Linked DNA regions of Homo sapiens: region 2 is linked to region 1. The links are contacts of gene promoters, found by promoter capture Hi-C in blood cells and fetal thymus (Javierre and others, 2016). All regions are on one chromosome and are shown on one strand. Each heading gives the region's core, a stretch centred on a gene start or on the middle of the fragment in contact. The rest is flanking DNA. Distances are from core to core; before and after follow the strand shown. Region 1 holds the start of SIDT2 (SID1 transmembrane family member 2). Region 2 holds the start of KMT2A (lysine methyltransferase 2A).

What was found. Contacts are between HindIII fragments. The CHiCAGO score rates a contact against its expected background, and 5 or more counts as called.
Region 2: a contact is called between the fragment with the promoter of KMT2A here and the fragment with the promoter of SIDT2 in region 1, in 1 of 17 cell types (monocytes). The highest score is 6.9, in monocytes.

What each region holds. Positions count from the first base shown.
Region 1 is chr11:117,176,204-117,181,349 of GRCh38, reverse strand. SIDT2 (SID1 transmembrane family member 2) reads right to left here and starts at 2,607. Exons shown (of 26, transcript NM_001040455.2): 1 at 1,904-2,607. The coding sequence starts at 2,086. It also overlaps a transcript of PAFAH1B2 not described here. RefSeq lists enhancers at 162-221, 1,249-1,318 and a silencer at 2,299-2,508. The HindIII fragment of the contact is 6,932 bases long and covers 1-2,752 here.
Region 2 is chr11:118,433,914-118,438,738 of GRCh38, reverse strand. KMT2A (lysine methyltransferase 2A) reads right to left here and starts at 2,247. Exons shown (of 36, transcript NM_001197104.2): 1 at 1,795-2,247. The coding sequence starts at 2,226. RefSeq lists enhancers at 281-1,278, 1,279-2,277, 2,939-3,078, 2,278-3,275 and a silencer at 2,149-2,628. The HindIII fragment of the contact is 8,732 bases long and covers 1-4,825 here.

The DNA.
Region 1 (5,146 bases), core at 1,358-3,857:
GAGCCCTGCCCTCCTTCATGCCAGCTACTTTGGTCTTTCTCCATCTTGGTCGGGCCAGGGAGTCATCTCTGCCTCTTCTTCTGCCAGAACAACCCCCAGACTCCAGGAAAGACCTGTGCTGAGTGCAGCTCCTGGCCGGCAGACATGTGCAGGGCAGCAGGACCCAAGCAACCGCAGGGTCTCACCCTCTGCCAGGAAACACGGTGGAGGCCTTGCGAGTCTCCAGGATACCCCATTCCTATCCATGTGCACAGGATGCACAGGCCTGCACACACAAACGTGTACACACGCCCCCACACACGAAGACACAGGAGAACAAGAAGTGCTCCTCAACCTTCCTGTGAGCCAGGAAGCCAGCAGGAAGCTCTAGTTAACAGCTAACCTGGGGCCAGAGCCCAGAGGAGTTGAGGAGGGGTAGGTATTGAAGGCCATGTTGTATCCTTAGCTCCCACCAAGGGACAGGGCTGTGGAGAAGTCACTTTACTTCTCTAAGCCTCAACTTCTCCCTCTATAAAATGACAGCCGGGTGCGGTGACTCACGCTTGTAGCACTTTGGGAGGCCAAGGCAGGAGGATCATCTGAGGTCAGGAGTTTGAGACCAGCCTGGCCAACATGGTGAAGCCCCATCTCTACTAAAAATACAAAAATTAGCTGGGTATGGTGGCAGGCGCCTGTAATCTCAACTACTTGGGAGGCTGAGGCAGGAGAATCGCTTGAACCGGGAAGGCGGAGGTTGCAGTGAGCTGAGATCACAAAACTGCACTTCAGCCTGGGCAACAGAGTGAGACTGGTCTCAAAAAAAAAAAAAAAAAAAAAAAGATAAAGTGATCTTCACCCTTGGAGCTATGAAGGAACATATATAAACAATGGGAGCTTAAAGGAAAAATAAAACCAAATCGATCTTGGAATGCTTGTTATTGGGCTGCTGAAACCCAAGCCCTAGGGCAGCATTTCCCAAAAGAGTAAAAACCACAGCTCTCCAGTGCCTTTAGATATGGGAAAAAAGGAAGAAAGGACTCTAAGCAGAAAGAGATCAAACTTCAGAGAACCAGGCACTGGGGGCAGATCCTGGCCTGCCACAGAAACCAAACCACTCCCCGTTCTGAAAAAAAATCAGATTCCCCATTCTCAACTCCATTGCTTCTCAGTAAACGGCAGTCATGGAGAGAGAGCAAGAGACCCGGGCACGAGACCACACAGCCAGGTTGCAAGAATTCTCCCAATCTCAGCTCTGCCTGGGGTCTAGACTTCCCACACTAGCTGTGTCTATTTCAACTCAGGGACTCACAGCTGGTGAAGAAACCAAAGAGAAGTCAGGGTGAAGTGGATTTTTCACAGTGGACAAATTCCCCTTCTCTTCCCACCCAACTTGCAGTTGGCCTTATAAAACCTCTGTCACCCTCAATTTACAAGGCCAGCTGGCTCTCCCAGGCAGGAAGAGGGCTGGGAAGCCCTGCATTCATCTCCCTGGGGAGTCTGAGATGTAACTTGCCTGCACAGAGCTTTTCAGTTCTGGGCCAGTCTCATTCCCCTGAGGTTTTCTGGGCAAGCCCAGTAATAAGCCTGTTTCCTCTCCCACCGAGACCCCACAGAGCTGTCAGATTCTGGGGTTTAGGGTAGAGAGCAAGCCATGTGTGCTCAGACCACAACTGATGGAAGAATGGGGGCGGAAGAGAAGATGGGAATGAGCCAACTTCAAAAACTGCCCAGCTGGAGCTTCAGAGAAACATTGGTGGCAAAGGAAGGAGGACTGGTCAAGAGGCTCCAGTGTGGTTCTGGGAACTGGGAACCTAGCAGGACAGCTCGTTCCTGGGGCCTCCCAAAAGGGTAGCGGGGCGGCAGAATCGCCTAGCCCTCGTCGGCTTCCCCACTCGCCTCTGGCCCCTAAGCCCCCAGCCCTCACCCTGTTGCGGGTCACAGTATGGTTGAAGGTGTAGATGTTGACCAGCTCGCTGTTGACCTCGTCCACGTAGGTGCGCTCAAACTCGGCGTCTTTCTGCGAGACGTTCTTGGGCCCCAGAACCCCCAGATGGCTCTCGACCGAGGCCACCAAGAGCACCAAGAAGGGCAAGCCCAGAGCGAACATGGCCCCGGCAGGGCGGCAGTGGCAGCGGTGGTGGCGGCGGCGGCGGCGACAGGAGACAGGACACCTCCGGGACGGGTTGCGGCTGCGGCCGCAGCTTCCAGCATCTCACCAGGACCAGAACTTTAACCCCGGCCTGAGATTAGGAAATGTCCCCTCCCAAGAGCCCCGAAGAGGCTCCCAGGGTCCCCGCAGGGGAGGGGGCGGCCGGGAGGGGGCGGGGAGGGAGGGGATGCTGGCTACGGGAAGGGGTCCCAGCTCGCGAGGGGCTGAGTACGACCTGAGACCCTGGAGCCCCGGGCCAGGGCCGTGAGAAGGAGGGCGGCTGGTTGCCGGGAGCCTGGAGACGCCGGGAAAGGGGAGGGAGGAAGAGCCGGCGGCGGGGGCTGGCCGCGGAGGAAGGCGAGTCGCAGAGTGAGGGGCGTGATAGGTGGTAGCTACCCGACGCCGTGCTGGGCTGCGAGTTTTCCGAGGTGCGGGCCCTTTAAGGGCGGGCGGACGCGCCGTCCCGACGCACGAACACTGAAAAGTGAGCTGCGCCGCTGGGCGATAAACAGCAGGGCTGCTGGCCCGCCCGCTGACGTCAGGGGAAACTGACACAGATTTAAAGGACCAGGTCCCGCATTTGCCCTTAAAGGGGCTGCAGCTGTCTAGCTGAAGGGGAAAGCTTGCAATGCCTTCTCCAACTCCTACCCAACTCTCTCCCGTGATTTTCACCATCTCTGAAACTCACGTTGGAATAGGCAGATGTTTCTGTTAACAATCTCCAAGTGTTGGGTTCTTGCTGAACAACTCTTACATTTGCTCAAACATAAGGATTCCCCCACCCCCACCACCACCTTTACAACTAACATCGTCCAACCCTGGGCCACTTTTTCTCCGGGGATCTTAAAAAATGAAAAACTCGAAGGATTAGGAAACAGGACGGTGGCCCTACCGGCGGAGGGGAAACGGAGGCAGCACTGCAGGAGGAATCCCCATGCCTTTCCCACCTCCCTCTAGAGGGGCCACACAACTGCAGGGACGGCCTTCCGAGCTTTCCAAGCTTGCCGGGCTGTTTCCCCTCTTCTCTCAGAGACAGTTACAAAACTCATTGAAAGATACTGACCTTCAGTGTAAATTGGTGAAAACTTTTCTACAAAATATTTTGGCACTGTTTCAAGAAACTTAGAGAGCTTTATACCCTTTGATCCAGTAATTCCACTTCTGGACTCTATCCTAAGGAAATAGGAAGCACAGATAAAAATACCTGGGCAGCTACGCTTATCACTGTGATATTTATAATATAAAGCAAAAAGGAAATGACTTGGATATCCATAATGAGGGATTGGTTAAATGCACTATCATGAAGGCATCAAAAATGATGCTTAAGACTTCACAGGACACGTAAGCAGAGAATTCAGGATATGACACTAAATAAACAGTATATAGAGCCAGGTGCCGTGGCTCACACGTGTAATCCCAACACTTTGGGAGGCCAAGACAGGTAGATCACTTGAGGTCAGGAGTTCGAGACCAGCCATGGCCAACATGGTGAACCCCATCTCTACTATAAAAATACAAAATTAGTGGGGCGTGGTGACGCGTGCCTGTAATCCCAGCTACTGGGGAGGCTGAAGCAGGAGAATCGCTTAACTCTACCAGGCGGAGGTTGCAGTGAGCTGAGATCATGCTCCTGCACTCCAGCCTGGGCTGCAACAGAGCAAGACTCTGTCTCAAAAATAAATAAGTAAATAAAACCGTATATATTCCAAATGCATATAGACATGCATAGAAAAATAGAAAAAAATTGTACTAAACATTTAGCAATGTCTCCAGAAAGCAGGGCAAATTTTAAAAATAAAATTTAGCAGTAGTTATCTTTGAATTACAATTTTAAAAATAACACATATTGTATATCATTTTCCTTTAATTCTAAAAATATAGAGTAGTACCAAAAAATAAAAAATAATGGATTGTGAGTGGTTCTTAAATTTTATTTTTTATATTTAAAAAGATTTACAAATGTTCTACAATGTATATATATTTATATATTGCTTTTTTATCTGCCGGGGGGTGGAGACAGGGTCTCGCTCTGTTGCCCAGGTTGGAGTGCAGTGGCACAATCTCAGCTCATTGCAACCTCTGCCTCCTGGGTTCAAGCAATTCTCCTGCCTCAGTCTCCCGAGTAGCTGGGATTACAGGCCATGTGCCACCACGCCCAGCTAATTTTTGTATTTTTGGTAGAGACGGGGTTTCACCATATTGGTCAGGCTGGTCTCGAACTCCTGACCTCAGGTGATCCACCCACCTCAGTCTCCCAAAGTGCTGGGATTATAGGCATGAGCCACCATGCCTGGCCACATATATTGCATTTATAAGACAAATTAGACTTTTTTTTTTTTTTTTTTTTGAGATGGAGTCTCACTGTCACCCATGCTGGAGTACAGTGGTGTGATCTCAGCTCACTGCAATCTCCGCCTCCTGAGTTCAGGCGATGCTCCTGCCTCAGCCTCCCAAGTAGCTGGGACTACAGGCACCCGCCACCACACCCTGCTAATTTCTTGTATTTTTAGTAAAGCGGGGTTTCACCATATTGGTCAGGCTGATCTCGAACTCCTGACCTCGAGTGATCCACCCACCTAGGCTTCCCAAAGTGTTGGGATTACAGGCGTGAGCCACTGCGCCCGGCCAAATTAGACATGTTTAAAGGAAAAGAAATGTGGCCACCTCTGAAGCTGTCAGACATCCTAATAAAGCCACCCAGATCAGTGCCTTGTCAGAGTTCTCTCAGCTGGCAGGATTGCAGCAGTCTCAGCTCCCAGCCCTGCCCAACTATCTGGAGCCTTGTTCCAATGAAGACTATTTTACCTTATGATCAGTTAGTTATATTTACTCATTCCTGCAATAAATATTTAATAAGCATCCACGATGTGCCAGGTACTGTTGTAGTTATGCTGGGCAAATGGTGAGTGGAGGAATTAGTTTTGGCCCCTGTCCAAGCACAGCATACTTGAGGATGAAGACCAGAAGCAAGCTGCACCCCTTTTCCAAAGGGTTCACCAATTAGAAAGTCAGCTGGAA
Region 2 (4,825 bases), core at 998-3,497, 1.3 Mb before region 1:
CTAAAAAATGCCAGCTCCTTGAAAGGAGGGGCCAGGGTCCTTGGGATCTCCTCCCTCCCCTTCTTCCCAGGATCTTTCCGTAAATCTAAAGGGGTGCGGGGCACAATAGGGGACAAGGGGTTTGCCCAGGATATTTTGTGTGCACCAACGGCAGAGCACGCAGGAAACGGCTGGTTGTTATCTTTCCCTTTCTGTTTCAATCAAGAGCACTCCAGAGCAGCAACCCCCTACCCCCCTTCGCTTCAGCCCCTAGCAGCTGCTCTTCCTCCTCCTAGCATCCCCCATGCCATCCTCCCCCCTCTACAATTCGAACTCCCCCCTTCTGCATCCAATGGAAAACAAATGCGCAACGCCACTGGCTGAACCTGAACTCAACTTCCCTTCCTTGGGCAACTTTCCTTTTTGCTGAAGGGGGCCGAATAATGTTTATAGAAGCAACTCCGTTCTTGCCCCAGTACTAATGGGGAAGGGGCAACGCTCTGACCCTTCATCCACCTTGGGTCCCCTTACAAGAATCAGAGACAACCCCAAGTCCTTTCTAAGGAATAACTTTGCTTGATAATCCTTTTTCTCCCATCCCAAAGCAACCACCGCCACCACACTAAAGTATAACTGTCCCTTATCTACTCTCCTCACCCCAACCTGGCTTCCCCCACCCCTTCCAAGCCCCAGGATTGGCCTAGGAAAAGGTGGATCAATAATGAAATGACGAGAAGAGAAGGGCGGGAGGGAGCTCGGGTTGGAGACTGCGTGCTCTCAGGCGCAGTGGGTGGGGTAGGAGAGCAGCTGCTTCCCCTGGGAGGATGCTGCCTCAGTCCCCCAACAAACACCTCCCCTCACAGGGGCCCCCTTCCCCAGAGCTGGAGGGAAAGCCTGCCTCCTCTCCAAGGGGAGTGGTGGAAAGCTGCTCTTCTCTAAGCCTAGGGGACAGTGGACTATTTTCCCCTCCAAGATGCCACTAATCCTTCATTCTAAAGGAGGGAAAGGGTGGAGTGAAGGTAGAGTAATTCCCGGCTACCAATAGGCTAGAAACTGTAGCCCTGTAAGACGGGGCGGGGGGGGGAAGAGACTGCTGTATGAGGAATCACCGTTATCTTCAGAGGGAAAGGAGGTGAGACCAGGCAAGGTGCAGAGGAGAGATTTTCCCCGGTGGGGTAGGGCGGGATGGGGGAGGATCGGTCTGCTTGGGGTGGGGGTAGAGGGTGGAGGTGAAGGAAGGGGGAGTGGCTGGCAGTATAGGGACCTGGCCCGGGGATGGCGCGAGGGTTCATCGGGTTTTCGAAAGCAAGGTGCTGGAAGGGACACGATCCCCAAGGGCCAGGAGAACGTGGCCCTGGATGAGGCCATCACCCGAGAGACGCCCGAGAGGAAAACTGCCCTAGGAGTAACACATCTGCCCAGAGAGGGAGGCGGGGATGTGGCGGGATCAGGTCTCTAGGAGGGAGGGAGGGAGGAATCTTGCTCGGATGAGGTAATCTGTGAAAGGGAGGAGGGGTTCAGTCCCGGGATGGGAAACCCCGGCGAGGGGGTCTGTGCCAAGGGATTTGGGGAAGGGTCAGGGGGAGGAGAGCGGGGGGCAAACGCCCTCAGCCAGATGGGCCCAAACCCCGGGGTGGGGGCGCCTGGGGGTCTGCAGCCCTGCATGGGGGTCCCAAGATGGGAGAGCCATTCGCCCCGGGTCAGGGACCCCGAGATGGTCCCAGAATTGGGATGCTCCTCAATCCCGGATGGGGGAGGGGAGGGGGCTCCGCAGAGGGTCGAGACCCCGGACCTGGGGGTTCCTCGCCCCCTTACCTCTCCGCTGCCGCCTCCCCCGCCGCTCTCCCCAAACACGGCCCGGAACCGGCGCAGGTTGGTGCCGATGGCGGCCGAGACCTGCAGCGCCGCGTCGAAGCCCGGGCCCACCCGGAGCAGGGCCGGCCCTGAAGAGGCTGAGGACGATGACGAAGACGAAGACGAGGCGGACGACGAGGAGGCTGCTGAGGCGGCGGCCGCTCCCCCTGGAACCCCAGCCCCGCTGCTTCCCGCCGCCGCCGCCGCGGCCGCCACAGCCGGGGGGGAGGGGGGCGCCCCGGGGCCGCCACCGCCGACCGGGGGCCCGGGGGGAAGCAGCAGGGCCGGGACGCGTTGCCGCGGGGCGCCCCCTAGGCCCCGGCGCCCCCCGCCGCCGCCGCCCCCGGTGGTCCCGGGTCGGGCGGGGAAGCGCCACCGACAGCTGTGCGCCATGTTCGCCCCGTGAAGTGAAGCAGCGAGAGGGAGAGGCGACAACACAGGGGGGCGGGGAGGCGGAGGGGGGGGCACGGGGCCCCGGAACCTGCCTAACCAGCTCTGCGCCGCCCGGCCGCCTGCACCCTGCCGGCCGCTATGCAGAGCGCCGGGCCGCGCCCGCCAGCCCCGCAATCTGTATAGCGGCCTCGGGCCTCCGCCTCTGACGCCTGGGCGCTGCAACTCCATCCCGAGGCCCGGGCCGCCGCCTCCTGCCCGCCCGCCGGCCCCGCAACCTGGATAACTGCATGCCCCGCCCTCCGGGAGAGGCATTGCTCGGGAAAAGGAGGGGGGAAGGAAGCCCGGGAGCCCGGAGCAGAGCGCGGGTTCCGGAGAGAGGGGGAGGGGGCGAGGACTACGCGGAGGATGGAGGCGTAGGGAGCCGGGCCGCCTGCAGCCTTGAGCGCCGAGAGGCCGATTACACACGTTCCCGGGACGCGCTGGGAATCGAACAGCCCGGGAGAGCAGCTTCCAGTATAACGCGGCGGCTGGGTCGGGGAGCAGTGAGCCTTCTCCTCCGCCCCAGGGCACGGATACAAGATGGGTTAGCCCGAATTGAACGCTTCTAGAATAAAAGAGCCCTTATTGTACTACATGCAAAACAGAAGCGCTGCCCAGTTTACTATATGCAAAACAGAAAGGCCCTCAATGAACGCACTTTAAAAAATAAAAAAGGAGCCCCTCCCATTTTCATGCTGGAGCTCTTTCCAAAAAGCACACACCGAGTGGCAGGTCTCCTGCCACCTCCTCGCTCTACTGTGCACTCGTCTGGCTTTCGTGCCCTTCTGCAGGGAGTTGGGTTGTGTTTCTCCAGCCCGGGCACTGAGGCCACGGCGTGCTCCGCTAACGACGCGGTGTTACAACGAAGCTGAAGCTGGGTGGCTAACGGGGCCTGGAGGGAAGAGGCGGGCAAAAGCGCCCCCGCCCCTTCTTCCTCCGGTCTCTGCCTGCCGCTGCATGCAAAGCAGACCCTAATGTATGCACGCAGAGGGAGGGGGGCTCGCGAGCACGTTTCTGATTAAGAGAGGGGGAGGAGGAGAGCGTTGGGCATTATGATACACTGGGTGGAAGGGGCCCGCCGGCGGCGAGCTCTGTGCGCGGGGTTAGTAAGCTGAGGGGGGAGGGGGAAAGAAGGAGGCGAGTTAGGGAGGGGAATGAATATCCACCGGGTTTACTTTATTGCGGGAAAGAGGGGAGGGCGCCTCGAGCATAGCGTTAGACGCCTGCAAGGCTGGGAAAGCCGAGAGGGTAGGGAGGGGTTTGTGTCGGGAGAACTTGCGTTGGCTGAGGCTGGGGGATCGATACACAGCCTGCAGGCCCCGGGGCAGCCTCCATCCCCCAAGCCGAGGGGGAGTTCGCTGGAAGGTCATGCAGCCTTCCTGGACTCCCGCACCGGTACAGCGCACTGCATGTAATATTACAGCCTGGGGCGGCGAATTTGGGAAGGAGGGAGAGGGTCGTTGTGAGCAGGTTGCACTCAGCTCTGGCCCTCCGGAGGGTGCACTTCACGCCTCCAGAGAAGGTCCACAGCCTCCTGGTGCTGAAAACCTACGTCCCTCCACTGGCGAAACATTTGTGCAGAGCGGACGATGGGATGGGGGCTGGAGAGGAGCAATGAAAGGGAGGAGACACAGGCAAGCCTCAACTCCCCCAACTCGTCCCGAATCGATCTTCGTTCCAACCGCGCAGGATGGGGCCCAGATGGTTTGCAAAGCGCACACTCGCACAACGCAATACACAGAACAAGATTCCGTTGTTACAGCGCGTGGTTTACTAGATGCTAAAAGGGTGGGAGTAGCAGGAGGGTCTTAAACGGCAGCCCCAAGGCTCTGCTAAGGACAGAGACACCCCATTGTGGACGGTTTCTCCATTGCAATATATTTAGCGTTGGGCGCTGGGGTTTTTGCTTCAGTGTAGCTGCTCTGATCAGTTACAGATTGGCGACCACGTGGATTCCCTCAAGCATCCTGATTTGTTCGTTCTCTCTCTCTCTCTCTCTCTTTCTCTCTCTCTCTCGTCTCTCTTATTTTTCTTTTGTATTTGCCGCCCCCCCTTCTTTAATATGCATAACGGTCTGCAGAGGTAATAGGCAGGGGACTGAATGACAGGCTTTATATAACTGTGTCAACAGATTTCTTCCCGCCTTCTACCCTTGAGAAAACATGAACCGGGTGGGTTCTGAGTAACCTCACTTCAAGCATTCTTCATTTAACACAGGTGGGAGGTCTGCAGGTTGCAAGGCAGCAGAAAGAAGGAAGAATGTCTTCGAATATTGTGTGGAGTCCCCAGACTCAAGCCTCTGAGCAGAAAAACTCCTTGAGAAATCATATAGTTTGTCTCTTTGCCTCTAGACTAGTCCAAAAGGAGCCAGAGCAAGTCAGAATTTGGTTTATTGTTGGAGATTTTAGGGCGAAAATATTAATAATAACATTTTTCAGTGCTTTCTGTGAGCCTAAGTGCTTTATGTGCACTCAATTCTCTCCAATTCTATAAGTTTGATTTTACATATGGGGAAACTGAGGCTTAGAATAATGTCTAAAGTCACACAGCTAGTAAGTAG